Linked DNA regions of Homo sapiens: region 1 is linked to region 2. The links are contacts of gene promoters, found by promoter capture Hi-C in human tissues and cell types (Jung and others, 2019). All regions are on one chromosome and are shown on one strand. Each heading gives the region's core, a stretch centred on a gene start or on the middle of the fragment in contact. The rest is flanking DNA. Distances are from core to core; before and after follow the strand shown. Region 1 overlaps MAP3K3 (mitogen-activated protein kinase kinase kinase 3). Region 2 holds the start of TACO1 (translational activator of cytochrome c oxidase I).

Evidence for each region. Contacts are between HindIII fragments. The study calls those that stand out against the background at their distance.
Region 1: a contact is called between a fragment that was not itself captured here and the fragment with the promoter of TACO1 in region 2, in 4 of the 25 tissues and cell types used here (dorsolateral prefrontal cortex, hippocampus, liver and 1 more).

What each region holds. Positions count from the first base shown.
Region 1 is chr17:63,678,032-63,682,980 of GRCh38, forward strand. It overlaps MAP3K3 (mitogen-activated protein kinase kinase kinase 3), which reads left to right. Exons shown (of 16, transcript NM_002401.5): 7 at 3,735-3,868. LOC101927898 (a long non-coding RNA gene) reads right to left here. Exons shown (of 3, transcript XR_243740.4): 3 at 4,305-4,727. Among named protein-coding and RNA genes, the nearest start is that of LIMD2, 20 kb to the right of the region's middle. The HindIII fragment of the contact is 5,321 bases long and covers 138-4,949 here.
Region 2 is chr17:63,597,709-63,603,104 of GRCh38, forward strand. TACO1 (translational activator of cytochrome c oxidase I) reads left to right here and starts at 3,187. Exons shown (of 5, transcript NM_016360.4): 1 at 3,187-3,655. The coding sequence starts at 3,376. The HindIII fragment of the contact is 17,557 bases long and covers 704-5,396 here.

The DNA.
Region 1 (4,949 bases), core at 1,548-4,047, 80 kb after region 2:
CAGCATGCCTGCCCTTTTTGGAAATAAATTATGGTCCCCAAATTGCCTTGGCTGAACTGTATGAGAGTCACAAAGCCTGTTTTCTCGCTTCGGCCCCACCATAAAGTCACTTTATGGCTTTGGGGCTTGGGTTTCCCTCTGCGCAATGTGGATGATGATAATGCACCACCACTGCAGGGGTGTAGTAAGGGTTAAATGAGAGGTGACAATATTTTTTTAAGAAAAAAAAATTGCCTTGACTGATTTTATTGCTCTGTTAGTTCATGGTACAATATCCCTAAATTTACACTCAGAGTAACTTTAGTTTCTGTTAGGACTTAGAAAATAGGACAAATTCTCTTCCATGGGCTGTTTGAGACCATTGCAAAGGCATGGCTCAGATACCACTTTATCTCAGAATTGGTGGCCTCTACCCTGTGAGTGAGATGTTGAGACAGGAAATCCAGCAAAATTCTATGCCTGTTTTCAGAGCAATTTTGTTTCTGGCCTTTGCTCTGGAGTCAGGTGGGGAGGCCAGATTACTGAGGACCCCATGTTAGCTTTCCTGCCAGAGAGACATCCTTGGAGGGAGGCTGGGGTGATGTGTCCAAGAAGAGATTGGAAGTATTCTCCAATACCAGTTCAGTGGTGAATTCTCAAAATGTATTCAGCACAACCACATGAACCATATGTTCTGAACAACTGACTTAATATAGAAGAATTAAAGAGTCAGTTTCAACTGGGTGCAGTGGCTGACGCCTGTAATCCCAGCACTTTGGGAGGCTGAGACAGGCAGATCACCTGAAGACAAGAGTTCAAGACCAGCCTGGCCAACATGGTGAAACCCTGTCTCTACTAAAAATATAAGAATTAGCTGGGTATGGTGACGGCCACCTGTAATCCCAGCTATTCAGGAGGCTGAGGCAGAAAATTGCTTGAACCCAGGAGGCGGAGGTTGCCTTGAGCCAAGATTGTACCACTGCACTCCAGCCTGGGCAACAGAGCAAGACTCCGTCTCAAAAAAAAGAGTCAGTGTCAGTTTCTTAAAGGTCATTGAAAAACAATAGTTTAAGCTTCTTAGAAAATGTCTTTCAAAAAGCAACCCTCTGGCCAGGCATGGGGGCCCATGCCTTTAATCCCAGCACTTTGGGAGGCCAAGGCTTGAGACCAGCCTAGGCAACATAGCGAGACCCTGTTCCTAAAAGTGCACACACACACACAGAGCAAGCCTCCCCGCCATTCTTTTTTTCCATTAAGTATTTTTCTTCCTTCTGAGGGTCTTTGAAATAGTGGGAGTCTCTCTGGCTCAGGGAGTTTGTTGAGCTCCATCAGTCTGTCAGGCCCACCCTCTTTTCCGGGATGTTCTAAGACCCTGGACTGGGCTCTTGAGCACCCTCTGCTGTAGATGCTTAGTCCCTGGTGCACTACCTCTACTTCCAGGTACAGGCTGAGTGCTCCTGGCTCCACATGAGCTTTGTTGTTTTGTCTATGAGACAGGGTCGCACTCTATCACCTATGCTGGAGTGCAGTGGTCCAAACACGGCTCACTGCGGCCTCAACCTCCCAGGCTCAAGCAGTCCTCCTGTCTCAGTCTTCCAAGTAGCTGGGTCCACAAGTGTGCGCCTGGCTAATTTTTAAAATATTTTTTGTAGAGATGGGGTCTCACCATGTTGCCCATGCTGGTCTCAAACTCCTGGCCTCAAGCATTTCTCCTGCCTCTCGAAGTGTCGGGATAATAGGTGTGAGCCACTGCACCTGGCCACACATGAGTTTTTGAGCAATAGGAAATATATATACATATATGTATAAACATGTATACACACACACATACATAAAACTAAAACTGTGTATCTCAGATTTTCCATCTAAAACTGGTCTGGACTAGGGATCTATCATCAAGAAAGGAGAGAAGCCAGGCATGGTGGCACCTGCCTGTAGCTGAAGGGGGAGGATTGCCTGAGCCCAGGAGCTCAAGACTAGCCTGGGCAACAGAGTGAGACCCTGTCTCTGAAACAAAACAAAACAACAAAACAGAATAGAATGAGTCAGGTACTTCCCTAGGTCTCCAGCTACCAAACTTGGTCTCTCTTGCTTCCTTAGCCATTTCCACAGAGCATCTTGCCTGCAGTTCCATTTCAGAAAACCTAGTGCTACAGCCCCTGAACTAGACTGGAGAAACCAGCCAGCAAGGAAAGTAACCTGCATTGTTGAGGGATGGTACTACTCTATTCCTGGTGTCTGGGAATTGCTGGGTCGTGGGAGAGAGGTAAGGGGTGGTAGATAAGGGAATGGAGGGCTCTTGTGTCTCTGGTTTTCTAAACAACAGGATAAATTTGTTCCCTTCAGAACAGGAAAAGGGTTCAGGATAAGAGTCTTACGTTTAAGTTTTGAAGCTACAAGAAATATTTGTGTGGGTATAGTTAAAGCTTTTTTTAAACCTTCTGAAAATTGGCTCTTCTGGTTTGGTGAGCTTAGGAAGGAAAAAAGATGCAAACTTTTGGCCTCATTTTTGTCTTCTCTGATCATGGAAAGCAACACAGCCAGTCAGAAAAAGCTCTTGGGCTAGGAGGAAGGAGGACCTGATTTCTCGGACTCAAAATCCCTTATGGCAGAAAAACATTGCTCAGTGACTTACAAAGTGTGTCATTTGTAAGACTGCACACCTCTGTCATTCACTAACATTAGGATGATAAACCATTTCATCTTACAAGCTGATGTGGTGAAAGTACCTGTTAATTGGTTTTATAGTCTCTTATCTGTAAAACATAAATAATTGTTTTTGGGTGTTTTGGGTTTTTTTTTTTTTTAAGATTTAAGTTCCTTGAGTCTCCGTCTCCTCCTCTGTTAAGTAAAGCAAATGCTTACCTCTCAGGATTGTTGAAAGGATTAAGTGAAGTAACAAATGTAAAAATACCTTGTGGAATGATTGCCACTTAGCAGCCACTCAAAAAATATTTGCCAAACCTCTGTTGTAGAGATGTTGAAAATCAAATGAGGTTAATTACTGTGAATGTGTAACAAAAAGTAAAGCACCACATAAATGCAAGATAATATCATTACTCAGACCAACCTGAGCAACATAGTGAGACCCTGTCTCAATTTAAAAAAAAAAAAAAAAAAGGTAATATCATTACTCATAAGCCAGGAAGTGTGGGAGTGGGTAGGAATGGAGAAGCCTGCCTTTTGATCCTGGCCAGACCATCACGAAGGCCTTTTTACCTGATACAAGTAGAGAACAAATAAGGGGAGACACTGGCTGGGGGAACAGGGCAACAGAGAGAGATGCACAGGTATATTCAGTTACCTTTCCCTGGTCCCCACCCTCAAAATACTGCTTGGACCCAAAACTAAAGAGGACTAAGCTGATGTATTGAGCTGATGGGAGGAAATGGCATTAGTGCTCTAGAGGAAGAGAGAAGGTGACATTATGAAGGAGTAATTATATATAAGAATTTTTTTAAAAGCTAGTCTGATTGCCAGCTAAAATGGTCTCCTAGGGGTTATTCTGGTTTCTGTTTTGTGTCAAGGTTTTTTTGGTCGGATATGCCGTAGTGCCTGCTCCATCTCTGGAGTTTGTTTCCTATTAGGAAGGGACTTTGTTTGCCTGAGGGAGCTGGCACATGCTGGACGTTGGTGCCATGACCCATCTGAGTCACATTCCTGACCTCTAGGGCCTAATAGTTGGCCCCATGCCTGCTCCTCTTGGGCCACACACCCTGGGCTCTGTTGTTGAAAGCCTCCTTTATGTGCTCTAGGCTCCCAGAACCCTGGCCGAAGCTCACCTCCCCCTGGCTATGTTCCTGAGCGGCAGCAGCACATTGCCCGGCAGGGGTCCTACACCAGCATCAACAGTGAGGGGGAGTTCATCCCAGAGACCAGCGAGCAGTGCGTGAGTATAGGGGGGCTGGGATATGCCTGTGGCCTGTATCAGCAGACCAAGCTCATAACAAGGGGTTCTTAGTAGTCACAGTGCAGAACTGAGGGACATGAACCCCATTTGAAAGCTCTTTTATAAACCAGGCCTGCCCAAATATGGATTGTCCCTTTTTAAGGGCCAAATAACAATTTCTGCCAAAGATGGGATCTAAAGGATCTAAACTACATAGTTTCCTTGTTGTTGGGTGAGGATTTAACAGATTTTTCTTCATCGTGGTCCTCTCATTGTTCCTACAGGCAGGCACCACCACGCCCAGCTCATTTCAGTAGTGTTTTAACATACGACTGGTTCTAAAGTGACAGGTTATGTTTTTCATTGGATATATTTTAGTTTTGCTGTTTCTTGATGAAAGGTAAGGAGTAAACCATATCAAAATTACACTGTAGGATTGGTTAGGCTGATCATTTATGATGGTAGACAGTTGTATTAGTTATCTATTGCTCCATAACAAATTACCACAAACCTAGAGGCTTAAAACAATATACATTTATCATTTTCCAGTTTCCCTGGGTGAGGAGTCCAGGCATGACTCAAATGGGTCCTCTGCTGAGGGTCACACAAGACTGCGATCAAGGTGTCAGCCAGGCTGCCTGCCTTTCTTGAGTTTGAGGCTCTTTTCTAAGCTCAGATGGTTGTTGCCAGAATTCAGTTTTTTTGTGGCTGTAGGACTGTGGTTCCTCTTTTCTTCTGAATGTCACCCAAGGGCTTCTCTGAGTTCCCTTCCTAGAGGCCACCTGCAGTTCCTTGCCATGGGGCCCTCTCACAACATGGCAGCTTCTTCAAAGCCAGCAGGAGAATCTTTTGCTCCAATCTGCAAAGATGGAGTCATAAAACATCACATAATCATAGGAATGAATATTCTATCCTCTTTGCCATAGTCTATTGGCTAGACTCACGTCACAGGTTCTACTTGCACTAAAGGGAAAGGCAGTTCATTGGGACTAATTGGAAGAGGGAGCAATCACCTTAGGGTGTGTCTACCACAGTGGCTCAGCCATTTTAGTGGCTAGCTTTTAAATTGGTGGCTTACTTG
Region 2 (5,396 bases), core at 1,937-4,436:
TACTTTCCAGGGAAACTGATCCCCTGGGTCCACTTGGTAGTCCAGCTGATCTTAATCCGCCTTTCACACAGGTCTGTGTTTCTTTGAGCCTAACTCTAATTTTTCACCTAACTTCCACCCTTCCCCATAATTCTATGACCAGTTTTTTCTTCGGTAAGACACTTCACCATTCCTCTGGTGTGCAGTCTCCCTTGTTGCAGTGAGTTGATAAGCCTAACTCTGTGAGACTATAGGTTTCCCTTGCTGGTCTCAGGCTGACTGGACTAGGGCAGTCTCAAACCTTGTTTTAGCCTCTACACTTATTTGTGATTACAAATTCCATTAATTTGATTTTTGCTTCTCAAAGTAAATATTACATATATATTTTTTTCTTTTTTTTTGAGATGGAGTCTCGCTCTGTCACCAAGGCTCAAGTGCAGTGGCGCGATCTCGGCTCACTGCAACCTCCGCCTCCTGGGTTCAAGCGATTCTCCTGCCTCAGCCTCCTGAGTAGCTGGGACTACAGGCGCGTGCCACCACACCTAGCTAATTTTTTGTATTATTAGTAGAGACGGGGTTTCACCGTGTTAGCCAAGATGGTCTCGATCTCCTGACCTCATTATCTGCCCCAAATCGGCCTTCCAAAGTGCTGGGATTACAGGTGTGAGCCACCATGCCTGGCCTGAATAAACTATTTTTAAATTGCAAAAAGTAATACTATATATGAATGGCTGATAAGCACATGAAAAGATGCTTACCATTAGTAGTCATTCAGGAAATACAATCAAAACCACAATGAGATAATACTTCTCACCCACAAGGATGGTGATAACTATAGTCAAAAAGAATAACAAATTTAGCCAGTGGCTCACACCTGTAATCTCATCTACTTGGGAGACTGAGATGGGAAGATCACTTGAGCCCAGGAGTTCTATGCTGCAGTCAGCTATGATTGCTCCACTGGACTCTAGCCTGGGTAACAAAGCAAAAAAAAAAAAAAAAAATTCATGATATGGAGAAATTAAACCCTCATATATTGCTGGTGGGAATGTAAAATGATACAACCACTTTAGAAGACAGTCTGGCAATCCCACAAAAGGTTAAACATAGTTATGATATGACCCAGCAATTCCACTCCTAGGTATATAACTAAAAGAAGTGAAAACATAGGTCCACACAGCAATGTGTACATGAATGTTCACAGCCTCATTATTCATCATAGAAGGTGGAAACAACCACATGTCCATTGCCTGATGAACAGATAAATAAAACGTGGTATATTCATACAATGGAATATTATTTGGCAATAGAAATGAAATACTGATACATGCTACAACATGCAAGAATCCTGAAAACATCATGCTAAGTGAAAGAAGCCAGTTACCAAAGGCCACATAGTGTGTGGGCCCATTCATATTAAATGTCCAGAAGAGGCAAACCCACAGAGACAGAAGTAAATTGGTGATTGCCTAGGGCTGTGGGAATTGGGGGGAAATAGGGAATGATTGCTAATGGGTACAGGACTTCTTTTGGGGATGATGAAAATGTAAAATCAATTGTGCACAGCTCTGAATATTCTATAACACATTGTACACTTTGAATTGGTGATCTGTGTGATCTGTGAAATATGTCAAAACTTAATTTTTTAAAAAATGAGAACTGTGTTGGGCATAGGAAGTACAGTCCTACTCTCAGAGAATTTAGTATTACGGTAGAAACAGATATAAACATTTTGATATTTTTTTAAAAGGTAAGTGCTAAGGTGCAAGCATGTATGAAGGGCTATGGGCACCCACCGCACCTGGCTAATTTTTGTATTTTTAGTAGAGACGGGGTTTCACCATGTTGACCAGGCTGGTCTTGAACTCCTGACCTCAAGTGATCTGCCAGCCTCGGCCTCCCAAAGTGCTAGGATTACAGGCGTGAGCCACCGCACCCAGCCCCATGGAGGTTCTTATATAATAAAAAATAAAAAATCTATGCTTTTGTGCTTTGCATCCATTATCCCATTTAGTCCTCACAAGGCCATTCTATGGTAAGGAAACTGAAACAGGAAAGTAAAGGAACTTGCCCAAGGATACACTAGAAAATGGAACAACCAGGGTTTGAAGCCACCCAGTCTAACTGCAGAGGGCACAAACTTGGACTTCACACTGTCCTGCTTCTCTCTCTCTCTCTCTCTCTTTTTTTTTTTTTTTTTTGAGTTGGATTCTCGCTCTGTCGCACAGGCTGGAGTGCAGTGGCGCGATCTCGGCTCACTGCAACCTCCTCTTCCCGGGTTCAAGCGATTCTCCTGCCTCATCCTTCTGAGTAGCTGGCATTACAGGCGCGCGCCACCACGGCCGGCTAATTTTTTTGTATTTTTAGTAGAGACGGGGTTTCACCATGTTGGTCAGACTGGTCTGGCACTCCTGACCTAGCGATCCGTCTGCCTCAGCCTCCCAAAGTGCTGGGATTACAGGCGTGAGCCACCGCGCCCGGCTGTCCTGCTTCTCTACCTGATATGTCATGCCCTTTGGACTTAATCTCACCAGCATGGGAGTCACTACAAAGCTTTTCAGCAGCTGCCGCTTTGTTTCTCTCCATCTTCTAACGGATTCGGTTTTCTCTTTCGAGACAGCAGAGAGAAAATGAAGAGGGGAGTTTAGCTCCAAAGGGCTTGTCTGATCATTCTCCCTCTCCCAAAGGCCTGTGACTCATCTGAGTCTGTCCCAAACCATCTCTTGCATCTAGGGGCTTAAGTGCACTGTGGCTATTTACATAAAACTTTATTACTTTAAAGCTCTAAGGGCTCATTTTGTGTTTCTAACTTTCCTATGTTGATAAAGCAAATATTAGATCCTTATTTATAAATAGGGAAGACGTTCAGAGAGATTAAACATTTGGGCAATTCACTTCTCTGGCAGCAGTTTCTTTCCCAGTACAATGAGGCAACAACAAAATATCATTCTGGACTTGCTCAGATTTAGGCAGCAATTTGGAAGCAAAGTCAGTTTCATAACTCAGATGTGTCTCCACTAAAACATTATGAGAAACAAAGTCCGGCGCTCTCTAGGCAACCGTGAGGGCTTGAGCACTAACTAGATCTGCTCAAGGGCAAGAGAGGAGCGAGTACCGTGCAGCCACGGAACGGACTTTGCGGGCAGTGGGGACGTGTTTTTGGAGCGAACCCGGTAAAGGAAGTGTGCTACGCCATCAAGGGCCCCCAGTCCCGGGTGCCGCGGGGACAGTGTAGGGTCATTAGCTGTTGAGCCGCCCCGGGCGGGCCCAAGCCTTTGGATCTCAGGTGACCGGCACAGGCGGCCGCGGGGTCCGGAACTGCTTGTTCCGGCAGTGGAAGAGACGCGCCGGCGTTGGCCGCTGCTGCTAGCAGCTTGAACCCCAGGGTCGGGACCGATGTCGGCTTGGGCTGCTGCCAGCCTAAGCAGGGCCGCTGCCCGATGCTTGCTGGCACGAGGCCCCGGGGTCAGGGCGGCTCCTCCGCGCGACCCCCGGCCCTCCCACCCCGAGCCCCGGGGCTGCGGTGCCGCTCCGGGCAGGACGCTGCACTTTACCGCGGCTGTCCCCGCCGGGCACAACAAGTGGTCCAAAGTCAGGCACATCAAGGGTCCGAAGGACGTCGAAAGGAGTCGCATCTTCTCCAAACTCTGTTTGAACATCCGCCTGGCAGTGAAAGGTGAGACCCTGACGGTCACCCAGCACTGGCTGCCGCTGCCCTCTCAGTGCCCGCAGCCTCGCTTGCCTCTCGGAATTGGGCCCACCTAGATCTCCGGCCCTTCACTTTGTTTTCCTTCCCCAGTACCCACCATTGCCCACCTCATAAATCCTCAAAACACCTACCCTACGTTGGAGGTTCTCACTCACTTTTCCAGACGCTGAGCATCTGGCCAGTTTGTCAGAGAGGGAGCTGCTCTTAAGAAGATAAGCCGGTAAGGTAGAAGTGACTTCATCCTAATCTAGCTGGGTACTTAATAGAAACAAGCCCTAAGAGTCAGGGCAGATGTGTGTCTCTCCTGAAGAGACAAATCAACCCCTCTGAAGTCGCCTCAAGTACCTTATTGGTTGTGGCAGGGGCACTGAGTAAAGCTATTACTTAAGTGCTTAGGCCTTAGCTTAGGCCTTAGTTTGCTTCATTAATGTTTCCCCAAGACACATTTCCTTGGAAGGTAGATTTGCAGCCATGTCTTTTCTCCCTTAGGTCGCCACACTGAAAAGGCTTTTTTTCTGTTTAGGGCCAGACATCTGTAGGAGCAAAGGAAAAGTCCTGTAGAAAGCATGGACTTTGGACTGGGCGCAGTGGCACAGCCTGTAATCCCAGGCCAGAGGCAGGCAGATCACTTGAGGTCAGGAGTTCAGGACTAGCCTGGCCAACATGGGGAAACCCTGTGTCTACTAAAAATAACAAAAAAAAAAAAAAAAAAAAACAGCTGGGCATGGTGGTGCATGCCTGTAATGCTGGCTACTCGGGAGGCTGAAGCAGGAGAATTGCTTGAACCCAGGAGTTGAAGGCTGCAGTAAGCGAGATTGCTCTACTGTACTCCATCCAGCCTGGGTGACAGAGCAAGACTCCATCTCAAAAAAAAAAAAAAAAAAAGAGAGAGAAACTGTGGACTTTGGAGTCAGGAAGACTGGTTTCTGTCACTGACTAACCTTGAACAAGTAGCTTAACTTGAGTTTCTCTGAAACAAGGATAATACCCACCTTGAGGTAGTTTATGGTTTATGGCACATCATAGGCATTCAGTTAATGTTAATTTACCCCCTCAGCTCATGCCTGGTATTTGTTTGCTTCCTTTTCTTCAAAATTCTTGATATTAAGTTCAAGCAACTTTTATTTATTTATTTATTTATTTATTTTGAGACAGAGTCTCACTCTGTCACCCAGGGTAGAGTGCAGTGGCGTGATCTTGGCCCATTGCAACCTCCACCTCCCAGGCTCAAGTGATTCTCCTGCTTTAGCCTCCGGAGTAGCTGGGACTACAAGTGTGCACCACCATGCCTGGCTAAATTTTTTTGTATTTTTAATAGAGACAGGGTTTCACCATGTTGGCCAGGCTGGTCTCGAACTCCTGACCTCAAATGATCTACCCACCTCCACCTCCCAAAGTGCTGGGATTGCAGGTATCAGCCACTGCATCCCAATGAAGTTCAACCAACTTGTGTTTATTTTGTGCCAGGCATGCCATTGGTACTAGAAAGATGATGAGATACAGCCCCTACCCTCAGATCACAATGTCATGTGAACATTTCAATAATTATGCACAAAGTGCTGGGCACGGTGGCTCACACCTGTAATCTCAACACTTTGGGAGGCTGAGGCCGGCGGATCACGAGGTCAGATCGAGACCATCCTGGCTAACACGGTGAAACCCCGTCTCTACTAAAAATACAAAAAAATTAGCCAGGCGTGGTGGTGGC